Regions from separate parts of the Homo sapiens genome. Here regions 1 and 2 are each linked to region 3. The links are contacts of gene promoters, found by promoter capture Hi-C in human tissues and cell types (Jung and others, 2019). All regions are on one chromosome and are shown on one strand. Each heading gives the region's core, a stretch centred on a gene start or on the middle of the fragment in contact. The rest is flanking DNA. Distances are from core to core; before and after follow the strand shown.

Evidence for each region. Contacts are between HindIII fragments. The study calls those that stand out against the background at their distance.
Region 1: the fragment with the promoter of CABIN1 here is called in contact with the fragment with the promoter of ADORA2A in region 3 in 1 of the 25 tissues and cell types used here (mesendoderm cells).
Region 2: a contact is called between a fragment that was not itself captured here and the fragment with the promoter of ADORA2A in region 3, in 1 of the 25 tissues and cell types used here (thymus).

Annotation. Positions count from the first base shown.
Region 1 is chr22:24,008,172-24,012,687 of GRCh38, reverse strand. It overlaps CABIN1 (calcineurin binding protein 1), which reads right to left and starts at 1,384. Exons shown (of 37, transcript NM_012295.4): 1 at 1,321-1,384. It overlaps LOC105372959 (a long non-coding RNA gene), which reads right to left. Exons shown (of 2, transcript XR_001755457.1): 2 at 3,821-4,516. The HindIII fragment of the contact is 7,958 bases long and covers 1-4,516 here.
Region 2 is chr22:24,757,590-24,761,942 of GRCh38, reverse strand. It overlaps PIWIL3 (piwi like RNA-mediated gene silencing 3), which reads left to right. Exons shown (of 21, transcript NM_001255975.1): 3 at 1,954-2,074; 4 at 3,904-4,035. Among named protein-coding and RNA genes, the nearest start is that of PIWIL3, 15 kb to the left of the region's middle. The HindIII fragment of the contact is 8,851 bases long and covers 1-4,353 here.
Region 3 is chr22:24,425,378-24,429,848 of GRCh38, reverse strand. It overlaps ADORA2A (adenosine A2a receptor), which reads right to left and starts at 2,250. Exons shown (of 3, transcript NM_000675.6): 1 at 2,103-2,250. The region is part of intron 18 of SPECC1L-ADORA2A (SPECC1L-ADORA2A readthrough (NMD candidate)); the gene reads right to left. ADORA2A-AS1 (ADORA2A antisense RNA 1) reads left to right here. Exons shown (of 7, transcript NR_028484.3): 7 at 1-643. RefSeq lists enhancers at 1-389, 464-623, 4,231-4,471 and a silencer at 2,060-2,169. The HindIII fragment of the contact is 18,723 bases long and covers 1-4,471 here.

The sequences.
Region 1 (4,516 bases), core at 135-2,634, 420 kb after region 3:
TAGCAGCACATTCACCAGGCTTATTAGTCTAAGCTAATAAGTTTCCAAACCCCTTAGAATATAGTTTCCATGGCCTCAGAACACGATAAAGAGTAGCACACCTTCAGACCTCAGCACCCTGATCCAGAGTGATAACTGGGGATGTTTCCTGGCCTGGAAGGTGGGAAGCCTATGTCTTAAGCTCAGTGGTGGCAGTGCCCTGGCTGTGTGACTGACTTGACATAGATGTCAGTCTCTCAGTCTGTTTCCCCTCATGTATGAGGCTTTGTACTAGATGAGGGTTCTGCAAGCTAACCAGCCCACCCTTTTTGTACAGCCCACGAGCAAAGAATGGTTTTTACATTTTTTCATATTTGGGAAAAAAAATCATGACACGTGAAAATTATATTAACAATATATAAAATTAAAACTTCGGTCCCTATAATTAAAATTTTATTGCGACGCAGCTAGTCTGTTATGTATTGTCTTTGGCTGTATCCACACTACATCGCTACAGTTAAGTAGACAGAGTATGGACCCCCCAAGCCTAAACTACTATTATGAATACTATTATACTCATTATACTTACAATATAACAATGTAAACACTGATATATTTACAACAAAAGTTTGCCGACCGCTGAACGAGACTGTTCTAAGCATATTCTATTTCTAACCACAATAATCACATAGAAAGAATCTTAGCCACATGGAATCCGACGGTCCCACACTTATAACCTGTAATAACCCAGGTCCTGAAGAGTTAAGTGACTCCCAAAGCCACTTGTGCAGATACCTTGGGAATGCCAGGTGAGTTCCATCTGGCCAGGGCCCGCCTCTTGCGGGGAGGCAGTGAAGCAGAACGGTCAAAATTTTCAGTCTGGAGTCGCGCTCACCCACTGGGTGACTTGGAGCAAATCATTTCACCTACCCGCGGCCTCAGTTTCCACCCCTGTAAATGGCACCAATAACAACACTCACCTCGCAGGGCTGCTGTGAAGGTGAAGCGAAAGGTCGCGAGTAAAGGGTTAGCGCGCTGGGCTTTGCACCCAGCAGACGCCAAATCAATGGTGGCTCCTGCGGTTACTGGGAACCTCCCCGGAGGCCGGAACCCATTCTAGGCACCTCAGGGCGGCGGCGAGAGCCATGAAGAGGCTCGCGAGGCAGCCAGGAAGCCCGGCCTCGGTTTCCCTGACTGGGGCTCTAAAGCTGCCCGCGAAACCCCCAGCTTCCTCACGTAACCCAGCCTCGCGCCTGCAGCCCCTCCGGCCTGTGCCCCGGGCTCTGCTGAGCCTCACCCCCACCCCGGCACCGCCTTCAAACCAGCCTTCCAGGAACTCACCAGGCGTCTCCACAGCAACGGCCAGTCTGTCCCGACCACCGCGCCGTCCGGCTGCGCGCCTGACAACAAGGCGTGCTCCCATTGGCTCCGGTGCCGGTTGTGCCAGCCAATCAGCGGGGGCGCACGCGCCGCTCGCTCTCCGCGGGCTGCTTAGCTGGGGCCCTGCAGACGGCTACCCTTGGGCGGCGCGCGCGCGCGTGCGCGCGTGTGTGCGCGTGTGTGCGCGCGTGCGCGTGTGCGTGTGCGTGTGTGTGTGTGTGTGTGTGTGTGTGTGTGTGTGTGTGTGTGTGTTGCGGGAGTGGAGCTTGTTGTTTCCGGATCCCCGTCGTCAGTCCTAGCGTGCTGGAGGCTTAGAGCACCAGCTCGTAGTCGGACTCTCTTCTCCACAGCTTGCACCCTGAGCAGTCACTAAATGATGGGCTGTGTGTTATTACCTGGGACATGTGCTCTGAAAACAGTGGAAACTTGGGGAACACTTAGAGCGGGGTGTCCAATCTTTTGGTTTCCCTGGGCCACGTTGGAAGAATTGTTTTGGGCCACACATAAAATACACTAACACTAAGGATAGCTGATAAGTTAATAAATAAATAAATAATAAAAATAAAAATCACCAAAAAATCTCAAAATGTTGTAAGAAAGTTTATGAATTTGTGTTGAGCCGCATTCAAAGCCAAGCAGACCAGCGCGTTGGAGAAACTTGACTTAGAGGGAACCAGGGAGGAGGAGCATCCTCATTCATTATATTACCTGTGCCTCTCTTTCCAAAAAGGATGTGAAGCCCAAAAGGAACAGATACAATAGGATATTGAAACAAAAGGAAAAAAAGGAACAAAACCTAGTAAATGAACAAGAAGAGGGGTCATGGGTGGTGTCAGAATTCCAGAGATGAAAAAAGGCGACAGAGTTGAAGGGGTTCTGTCAAGGGTCTTGGGCTGAAAGATGGTACTCTCTTGGGAGCTAGAATAACAATAAAGCATTGTAGGGAAGAACTTTACACTGTGGTTGAATTCATAGCTGCTTGAGTCTTGCACAGATGATTCAAATAGGAGTGAATGTTGGGGGCTTTTTAACCTCAAAGACAGTAACAGCATGGTGAAAAACTCAGTTCAGTACAATAAAGCTATACTGATAAGCTAGAAGTTCTGAAAATTGTTGAGTCACCAACCTTGACTTTGAGTATTGGGGTAAACAGTATTTGGGGGGTAAACAGAAGCATAAACAGATGGTTTCAAAGCTGCATGGATAACCTTCAGCCTCGGATACAGCTTCCACTCAAGCCTTATCATGAAAGATGCGCTGGAGAGAAACAGTTGAAAATAGGTGGGAAGGGTGGTCCAAGCAGCAAGAAAGTTGTGTGGGGAAGGTCCGGAGGTGAGAAACATGCAGATCATGCTGGAGTGTCATGCAGCACAGTGTTACCGTGAGGCAAAGCTCAGGGCCACAGTGGGGAGAGAGCACTCTGGAGAGTTAGGAAGAGGCCAGTCCAAACAAGCAAGCAGAAAACATATTGTTGCAGTCTTGCCCGTGCACCACAATGTACCAGTCTCTCATTGTGGGGTATCACCCAGAATTCTTTGTCTCACGACCAAGAAAATTAGGGAGTGTGGACACAAAGGGTAAGGTTGAAGCAAAAGTTTAATAAGCAAATGAAGAAAGCTCATTGCAGCTGGCGGGGGGCCCAAGCAGGTTGCCCATTATGAGGCTGGGTCAGGGGGTTTTATGGACTGGGAAAGGAAGGAATGTACTGACTGGTCTTGGAGAAAGCACTACTCAGCTTGGCCCCTGGACCTTGAGGGACCAATCAGGAGCTGAAGTGATAGCCTGGCCCAGGACCAATCAGAGGCTCACATTCTAAAGCACGTCCAAGAAAGGAAAGTGCCCACTGGAACCCACTGTAGCCCACCGTGTACATGTCCACAAAAGGAGAAGAGACTATTTCCTGGAAGCCCACTGGTTATACAAAGGACAAAGGCATTTCTATGCTGGGTCTTGTTCCCTTATCAAAGTAGCTGTGGGCATGCCTTAGGCACAAAGATCAAAGGTGTTTCTGTGTTGGGCATTGTTCCTTTATCTGAGTGAGCCAGAGGTTTGTGCAAGTTTCCTTATCTGTGCCTGAAGCCTGATTTTTCAGGCTGTTCCTCTGTTTAAAGGAGTTTTACCAAGGACCCACCTTAATTACCTAACTTTTCTCTCTCAATATCACTCTCACTACACTGAGGATGGCAGATTTAACATGGGGAATCTATATCAAAGACTGTGGCCTTATGGTCTTGGTGAGAGTTAGGCCTGAATCCCATCCATGGTGACCGCAACGATTCATTCATATCCAATGCAAGCATTCCCTGAGGCACTCTGGGAAGCAGGACACCATGAAACACACTGGCAGAGGAATGAGTGCAAAATACTTGGGTCAGGGGTCCAGGGGAAGGAACTCCAAGGTCTAGCTATCAATGAAAGTCCTTAGCAGTGGTTAGGTACAAACACACCAGGCACAGGCATATTCCATTAGAAATTGATTTTATTAACTACATAGACTGCACAGACTGAAAATCTGAATTTGGTGTTTCACTGGTACGCTAAAGATAAGGATCATCAAAGGTTTATGCAGGGAAACAGTGACCACCACGGTGTCCAAGGGTCATTAGAGGAAAATTCTGCATGGAACATGTGGAAAGCTACAGAAATGGAGACTCCCTATAGGCTCCCCCACACCACCCCTACATACTTTGACATTCAACAGACTGATAGGATATTTAGATAAGAGGGTGGGGACCTCATTCATTCAGTTTCAATGCAGTTTCGGCGCTGACATTGCATTTCCAGGTTTGGCATTCTGGGACATGGGTTTTACAAGGTGCCTAGCTACAGAGAATTATCAGCAAGAGTTAACAGAGAAGATGAAGTTCTCTGCCCAGGAATGCCCAGAGAAAGTCCCTGAAGACAAATCTGCCCTGTGCTCTGGCCCACTACAGCAGACTATGGAGAGGAAACAGCTCAGAACTAGTGGAGAAGGGCTGAGCAACTCCTGGAGGTCCAGAATTCTGGGGAGGGCAGGTGAGAGGAGCAGCAATGGGGCTTGAGCTCTTCCTGGACCTGACACACTATCCACTTTTGCAAGACAGAATGACATCCCTTTTGAGCTGTGGATGGTGGAGTTGGCTTGGGGTGAGCCAGGTGGCTGGGCTGGGCCCCATGG
Region 2 (4,353 bases), core at 1,403-3,902, 330 kb before region 3:
GGGCCCCATCTGACAACCTCCAGGGGGACCATATACTGCATGGAAGTAGCACGATGCCTTCCAGGTCCACTTATTCTGCTGTTTGACTGTTGCTCCTCTCCTTCTCCTAAGCCCTCCAACCTCAATTCCTCCTCCTGGTCCTAATTCTCGGTTTTCAACATAGACTTCTGTGCCACCGAGACAGACAAAGCATCCAATGAGAGTGTCAGTGGCTCCCTCTCTTGTCCCCTCACTCATGAGCATCTGAACCCATAGTCCAGCCCCTCACTGGAGATCCTAGGGCACCATCTTTGTTCCTACCTAAAGCAAATATCTCTACTTAGCCCCTTAGCCAGTCCTCTGTCTAGGGCATGTCTCCTGCAGCTTGCCTTTCTGTCTCCCAAGTCAGCAGGTGTGTGTTCTCCTAAATCATTCCCGTCTGTCTACAGACTCACTGAGTTCACTCCCATTCATCAAGAAACCTTCCCTGGGCCCTTCCACTCTGCCAGATTCACAGGGCAGCTCTCCTCAGACTTGCCTCTTCACTTTTAGTTGGCACAGTTGAGACCTCTTTTCTCCTGTCAACTCCCTCCGCTTGGCGTTTAGGTTACCTCCTTCATCACTGACCACCCCCACTTGCTCTCCTTTGTGGAGTTCTCCTCTATGGCCTCTTGATATTGCCAAGACCCAGCCCTTGAGCCTCATCTTTTTTCTCCATATTCTCACTCCCTTGGTGAAGTTATCCAGTGTCAAAATGCTTTCTGGTGTGTGGACAGGTCCCCATATTTATCTCGTTGGCCAGAACCTCTCCTGCACCACCTAACACCCCCACGGGTGTCCGTGGACAACTCACACTCCCAACCTGCCCTCCCCAGCATGCCATACCCACCTCATCAGAAGGACTTCCATTCTTCCATTTGCTCAGGCCAAAAGTCTGTGCTTTCATCCTATCTCCATGACCTCAAGCCCTTCTCAAAAACAACCACGGGATTGTTTTCTCAAAAACTATCCAGTATCAGACAATTTCTCACCACCCCTATCCTGGCCTCTGGCCCAAACAGCTCACATCCCTTGCTATTTCCTTGTCTCTCAGCCTGTTCCCAACATGGAACCTGACAAATTAGTTCATGTCGTTCCTCTGCCTGGTATCCTGTCACAGCTTTTTTTTTTTTTTTTTTTTTTTGAGACAGAGTTTCGCTCTTGTTGCCCAGGCTGGAGTGCAATGGCGTGATCTTGGCTCACTGCAACCTCTGCCTCCTGGGTTCAAGCGATTCTCCTGCCTTAGCCTCCTGAGTAGCTGGGATTACAGGCATGTGCCACCATGCCCAGCTAAGTTTTGTATTTTTAGTAGAGACGGGGGTTTCTCCATGTTGGTCTTGAACTCCCGATCTCAGGTGATCTGGCTGCCTCGGCCTCCCAAAGTGCTGGGATTACAGGCGTGAGCCACTGCACCTGGCCTCTGTCACAGCTCTCATTTTATCAGTCAGAAGCAATTTCCTTAAAATGACCTCCTTCCCTTCATCTCACTGACATCTCTCACCCTCTTCTTCCAGCCACACTGGCTGCCTCATTCTTCCTTGAACGTTCCCAACTGCAGAACTCTGCTCTTTTTCTTCCACTGCTGGCTTGGGTAACTTTGCTAATTCACTCAGTACCTCCAAGTCTTGGGTTCTGTGTCACTTTCTCACTGAGGCCCGCTTTTGCCCCCATCAGCTAGTGAAACCTGCCCCTTCACACCCTACCTTCCCAGTAATTCCTGATTCTCCTCGGTTTGTTTTGTCCTTTTTTTGTTTTTTTCCTTAGCAATTACCACACAAGGTGCTATGTATGTTGCTTATTACAACTTAGTTTATGTCACTGGAATGTGAGCTTTTCAGAGGAAGTTCCTTTGCCTTGTGCCCTGCGAGTGCCATTTGGAGGGAGAATGAACACAGTAGGGCACTGCTCATTATTTCTATTTCCAAAAACATGCAGACCCAGGAGCCCCCTCAGTTGCAGTCGACACCCCGGCCGCTGCAGGAGGAAGTCCCAGTGGTTAGACCTCTGCAGCCAAGAGCAGCAAGAGGAGGAGCAGGAGGAGGAGCACAGTCTCAAGGTGAAAGGAAGCAAGAAGGACATGAGGGGCAGGGGATGCTTCATGTGTGAAGGGCTACCACAGCGGTAGAAGGTTCTAGATAGCCTCAGGACTCCCGTGAGGTTTGGTGGGATGGGAAGTGTGTGCAGCTTGCAACTGTCTCTCTTTGTGCAGTGAATTATCTGATGGTGTTTTCTTCACCTTGTGTCTTAACTTGTGGAAGGGAGATGGAGGTCACTGTTTATTGGCCAGTTCAACATAATTGCTTTTCAAATTTAGATGACACATCTGCAGATGATAACTCTAAGTTAACTTAATGGAATTCTAAGAACACCATTTTCTTTCCTCTTTAAATTGTGGCATTAACAGGTTGAACCTGTTACCTACATTGCAGGCTGACAGGTTATCCTCGTTTATACAGCACTCATGCACACAGGCTCAGATATTGTCATTTGCTAAGGTTTCGGCTAATGTGATCCAACTTCAGTCTGGATTCTCCTCTTTGCTTTCTATAGCAAAATAGCTTGTGATGAGTCAAAACTTGAAACACTAAAAAAGAATTGTATTATAGATAAATATTAACAAATGGTTACAAAATCCAGAACCTATAAAATGAGCTTATACATTTGAATAAATTAAAACACATTTTTAATAATCAGATCCTATCTGAAGGGTTGTTATTAAATAGTATGTGTAAATTACATGGACTGGGTGCAGTGGCTCACATCAGCACTTTGGGAGGCCCGGGTGGGTGGATCACTTGAGGCCAGAAGTTCAAGACCAGATTGGCCAACATGGCAAAATCCCATCTTTACCAAAAATATACAAATTAGCTGGGCATGGTGGTATGCGCCTGTAGTCCCAGCTACTAGGGAGGCTGAGGCAGGAGAATCACTTGAACCCAGGAGGCAGAGGTTCCAGTGAGCTGAGACAGTGCCACTGCACTGCAGCCTGGGTGACAGTTAGACTCCGTCTGAAAAGATAAAAGTATGTGGTTTGTAGCGAGTGCCAAGGTGCCAAGCTAGGATACCTGTTTTCTTTTGCTGACATTTTAATATGATGAATTTGATTGCTGGATGTGTCAGGAACTAGTTGGGAGTTTGATAAAATTGTTTCAAATTTTATGTGTAAAATGTAGTTAGTCTGTCACAGAAATGGAGACACTTACTTTGTAAGATCATCATAAACTAAAAACTAGACTCCAGAAGTAAAATTTTGAGGCAAACCATTATTGTAACCCAAGGCACAGACGTCTTGGCCATTTAGGTGTACGGGATTTACAATAACGTGTGCGTATTCCTTCAGGATGCCTCTCGTCACTGAAAGACCGCATTGTGCTGTCATTTAAATGTTAACTTTGTAGAATAGCTACATCGATATGAACCTTAGAATGTAAGTTGAAATAGTGAGTGTGATCCTTTCCTAGTTGCTCTTAATAGAAAGGATAGATCAGTTTTGTATTAAAAGCCAGTTTTATAGATTTTTTAAATGATTGGCTTATTTGGCATTTTATGATGCCCACTAGGGGGCAGCATAGCGCCAGGAGATAGGCTTAAAGACAGAACCAAAGTTTCTAGAATCTTGTACCATGAACAAATACCCAAAGAAATGGGGCACATATGTAGCAGGAATGAATAAAGTGCCAAGGCAACCACGGATGTGAACTGGGGACTCCTTGGGAAAGGTTTCTGGGTAAGGTTACGCTTTTGCGGCAACATATCACGGAAATGTGTTTTGGAACCTTGGGTGGCATCTTTTCTACCTCTAACAAACTTATGCTGGGTGTTAATGCTGTCTTTTCTATTCTTCCCTTTTTATTGTTTAAACTTCTGGCGTTTACATTTATGCAGGGGTGAAGGAACCTGGACCTGAGGCTGGGTTGCATACAGCGCCCTTGCAGGAGAGAAGGATTGGTGGAGTTTTTCAAGACCTGGTGGTGAACACCAGGCAAGATATGAAGCATGTTAAAGACTCAAAAACAGGTATGTTGGTCTAGAACTCAATGTTTATGGAGCTGTTCGTTTTTAACTTTTTTTTTTTTTTTTTCATTGAGAGACAAGGTCCTGCTCTGTCGCCCAGGCTGGAGTACAGTGATGCTCACTTTAGCCTCAAACTCCTGGGCTCAGCTGATCCTGAGCTGATCCCAGCTCAAGTAGCTGGGACTACAGGTGGGCACCACCATGCCCGAATGTGTGTGTGTGTGTGTGTGTGTGTGTGTGTGTGTGTGTGTAATATATACATATTTTATATATGTGTGTGTGTGTGTGTGTGTGTATGTAAATTTTGTAGAGACACGGTCT
Region 3 (4,471 bases), core at 1,001-3,500:
CAGGGGGCACCTGCCTAGAGGCCAGGCACTGCACTGGACCCTCAGACACAGCTTGTGCAGCCTGCTTAGGAGCTTGGGAAATGACTGTCATCTGTGATCTTGCTGGTCCCAGGAAGCCCATTTTACAGATGAGGAAACTGAGGCCCAAAGGCACGAAGCGACCTCTCTCAGCCTCACCAAGAGCACTGGAAGGTGGTGTAGGGCTGCGGCCGTGCGCACAGAGAGCACAGCAGCAGGAAGGCTCCTGGGCCTCCAGCTCCCCTCCCTCAGAAGCCTCCCAGAGTGACAGGAAGGTCAGAGGCCCCGGGGAGGGGGCGGGGCCAGGATCTGGCAATTTCCTATCCCTCTCTGTTGGCTCTGTGCATCTAATTACTCCTTGAGTCATCTGTTGCTAACCAGGAGGGGAAATTAAATATTAATAATGTAATACTTCTCTGTGATTACCCCTTGTTGGGGACAGATCAGAGGGCAGATGCTGCCCCATACAGACAGGGGACACATGCTGCGGAATGTGCATAATGCCTCTTGAAAGAACCACCTTATAGGATTCCACGCGGTCAGACTCAAAACTGCTGCTGCTTCCTGCCTTCCTCCTCACCTCCCCCAACCTGGCCACTTTAATTAAAACTCCATTTAATCAAAACCCACACATCTTCTGGTTCCTCATATGTCGCACTAGCAAGGCCCTCTGTACACATGCCCAGATGGTGGCTATACCCCCCAGAGCCTGCTGCACGGAGGTGCCCACCAGCTTCTAGGCAGTGACCTGCACATCTGCTCCTGAGTGCGGCTAAGAGCAACATACAGGACACAGTGCACGGACTCGGACCCGCTCCAGCCATGCCTGGCCTGTTCCTGGGCTCCAGAATCCCAGCCTTAGAACCCTCCTGCTGCTTTTCCATAACAAATGTTTACCAAGTACCTCCACCAGGCCTGGCAGCACCCCAACTGCTGGGCCAAAGGGAGGTGTGCCCCCGTTGCTGTGCCTGGCCCCATCTGAGCATATGGCAGGGGACCTCAAAGGAGGAAAGGACCCAGGACATTCCTGGGAGGCGGCTGCTGCCCTGCAGTTTCAGGCACTGCAGGCCACTCCCTGTCTCCACAACATTGGCTCAGCTAAGAGGAGTCGCAAATCAATTTCAAAGCGCAAGAGGTATATGAAGGCTAAGAAAGGTAAGCAACAGAATAAAAAACATGGAGGTGAATTCATTCCAGTAGGAAGGAAGGTAATACAGTAATCTAATAATGATTTCAGAGACCTTTAGAATCTCCAAAGAGGCAAAGAAAGGAATGGCATCCGTAGACAAGAATGAGAACTTCTGAACCGACTGGCGGAAATGAAACAAGGACAGGTGGATATGAACAAGAAATAATACAAAATCCAGGGACTGAAAAATAGAAGGACTGAAGTAAGGGATGTGGTGAGCTTCAGGCACACGTACAGTGGAAGAGACGACTGGGGATCTGAAGCTAGTACTGAGGAATTCTCCCAGAAACGCCATGAAGAGACCTAGTCTAGGAGGAAACGGTTGAGAGGCATGGGGTGGACTGAGAAGCATCAACAAGTGGCTTGCGGGAGCTCGGCAGGGCACGGCAGGTTGTGGGCCCCACTATGACTGGCTTTTGGGATGGCCCAGGGGGGCCTGGGCATGAACCTCCCAGAACCCAGGGCCCCAGGATCCCCATACCCCTTCCAAACTCATCAGCGCAGGTGCCTTCCTCACTGCCCAGTGGTAAGCAGCCACCCAGCACGGGCTCCACTTCCCTCCTGACCTCCGGGGCTGCCCGGTGGCCCTTACTTCAGGCGCTGGGTGCAGGCTGGGCCCGGGACCCAGAGATACACCTGGCATCCCTCCCCCACAGCCCGGGTGCAGCTGCAGCTCTCTGCTCCTGGTGGCAGGATGTGGGCAAGATGGGGCCAAGACCCAGCTCCCTGCAGCTGGAGGCTAAGGCTCTGAGCCTGCCTCACAGAGCAGCCCCCACATCGCAGCCCCGGGGCCAGTGCTGGGGGCCCCAGCTCCTGCTCCCCACACCCCCATGTGTCCAGGCTAGGGGCCAGGAAGGCCACAGCACCCCCTCCTCCCCGCCTGGGGGCCACTCACCCCCTCACACGAGGCTTCACCTGACAGCCCTCCTCCGAGGGGCCGCACCCCGCACCAAGGTGCTGGGGGCCCACGCTGTGCTGAAAGCAGCTTGGCTGGGGGCGGCTCCTGCTCCATGTCACAGTCCCTGAGGCCCAGGCAGAGCTTCCCCTCTGCACGCGGCTGCTCACATGTACACAGGCTGTGGTGAGCCACGTCACGTCACGTGAAGGATTGGCACCTGCACCTCCCTCAGATGGCGGGCAACAGGTACTATGCCGCTGAAGGGGGGACAAGGGAGTGTTTCTAGATGGCCCCGCGGACACAGAGCCCAGGAGTCCTGGGCGGGACCCTGTGGGAGGCTTGAAGGGGCAGTGCTGGGTGCAGGGCCTCACAATGCCCCAGGGTGGCTGCAATGAGGATGGGAGGGGTGAGGACCGGCTGTTGGGTCCCTGGGCAGGTGCGACGAGGCAGCCCCGGAGGCTGACAGGAGGGCAGGGTGACCAAGCAGAGCCTGGCCACTGCTTCTTCCCCACTGAGCAGCCTCCCCCAGGCTGGCTCAGGGTTTGCAGAGGCCACTGAGGGACCAGAGGCGAGTCCTCCTGTGACACGGGCAGACCAGCCCGGGGCCTCTGGGGAGAAGTCTCCTGCCCAGATGCCAGAGGAGACACCAAGTGGCACCATCGGCCTCCCTCTGCTTGGCCAGCTCCGGCAGCCTCTCCACCAGGTGACGGCCGATGCCAGAGACCAGGGCTGCAGCGGCACATCCGAGGAGTGGGCACAGAAGAGCAGCAGCAGCCCCTGCCCAGTGACTCCTGGAACAAGCTTCCCCTGCGGGGTGTTGGCGGGGGGTGGTGAGAGAATCCCCATGGCAACTCACAGAAACATCATCTGGGTGAGACTTGGAGGAGAAGGTGAAGGGAGAGAGGTATCGAGAGATTCTAGCAGAGAAAATGCCCGAAGCCAGGGTCCTGCCTTCCCTGGGCTCCCATCATCCCCTGTGCTGGGACGAGGGGCAGCTGCTCTGCTGCTCCTCTCTCCACCTGATCCTCCCCAGTCCCTGGCCAGATCCATGGAGTCCAGGCTGCAGGGGCCCAGGCCTCCTCCGCCATGAAACTGCCTCTTCCCACCACCCAGAGCCCCAGGTTCTGCACAGGATGTGGGCAGTTGTGTGGGGGCTCCTCTCTGCACCCCAGCTCCATTCCCTTCCCCATCTGGGCTCCTCTGCTCCTTGCAACCTCTGGACCACCCACCTCCTAGGACCAAGCCCCTCCTGTCAATGGCCCAGACCCTTCTGGGAGCTAGAACCCTCCCATTCACCAGCTCAGCTCCTGCCTGTGCAGTCTCCTCTCCACAGCACCCCCACCACACATGCCCTAAATCCCCTCAGCCTGTGCTTCCCGCCTTCATCCATCCATCCATCTTCTGTCTGTCCTTCCTCTGCTCTCCTGCGTGCTCAGGGCTCTGTTTGCGCTGCAATAGACAAGACAGACCCCGCAAACACGGTTGGGAAGGCAGTTCTAGCTCATTTGGGGTTAGGTGGCTCGGGTATTAGGTCTGTGAGAGGGTACTAAGACCTTCTTTGGAGTGTCAGGACACAGCTGAGAGCCACCAGGGGCTGTGGTCCCACACAGCAGGCACTGCCCAGGCCTCACCTGGACTTTGCAGGACGTGATGCTCTCAAGTCACATGCTGGCTCCCAGGCCAACTACCATTCATATGTCCCTCTGCCAACAGCAATCCCTGTGGTGTCCCCTGACCCTCAAGCCTAACACCCTCCCTCCCGGGTTCCCCGCTCCAGCACACACCCCTCACCGGCCCTCTGGTCTGCCCTAAACCTTCCCCCACTTGCTCCCAAGCCAAGGCCTTTCCACATTAGGCATTGCTAAGATCATCATCCTTGTTCTACAGATGAGATATCAGATTCCCCGGGACAGCAACCTGCTCAGCGAGTGGGTCGAGGAGGCAAGACCAGAACCCAGACGAGAGCACTGAAATCTCCAGCACATCGCGTTGCCCATGAGGCAGTCATTGCCATTGATTGCCCTCCTCCATCGCGACGCAGGGCATATTTGGGGATCTGTAATTCACAGACTGATATGGGAAGAAGCCCAGCACAGCTCTCAGACCAGCCAGGTCAGCCTTGGCCTAAGGCCCGCCTCTGGCCAGAGGTGACTGGGCTGCCCCTGGCTTCCTGAGGCAAGGAGCAGGAAAGCTCACAGCTCAGCCAGCTCAGCACTGGGGAAACAGGGGACACGGATGGAGGGGTAGTGGCTGGGATTTGCCTGAGAAACTCTAGGACTAGGGAGAGGCTGGGAGACCCCAAAAAGCAAGCGCAGAACAAGGAGGGACTGACACCGTGGCCGTGGACCAGCCTGTGAGGCGCCCCT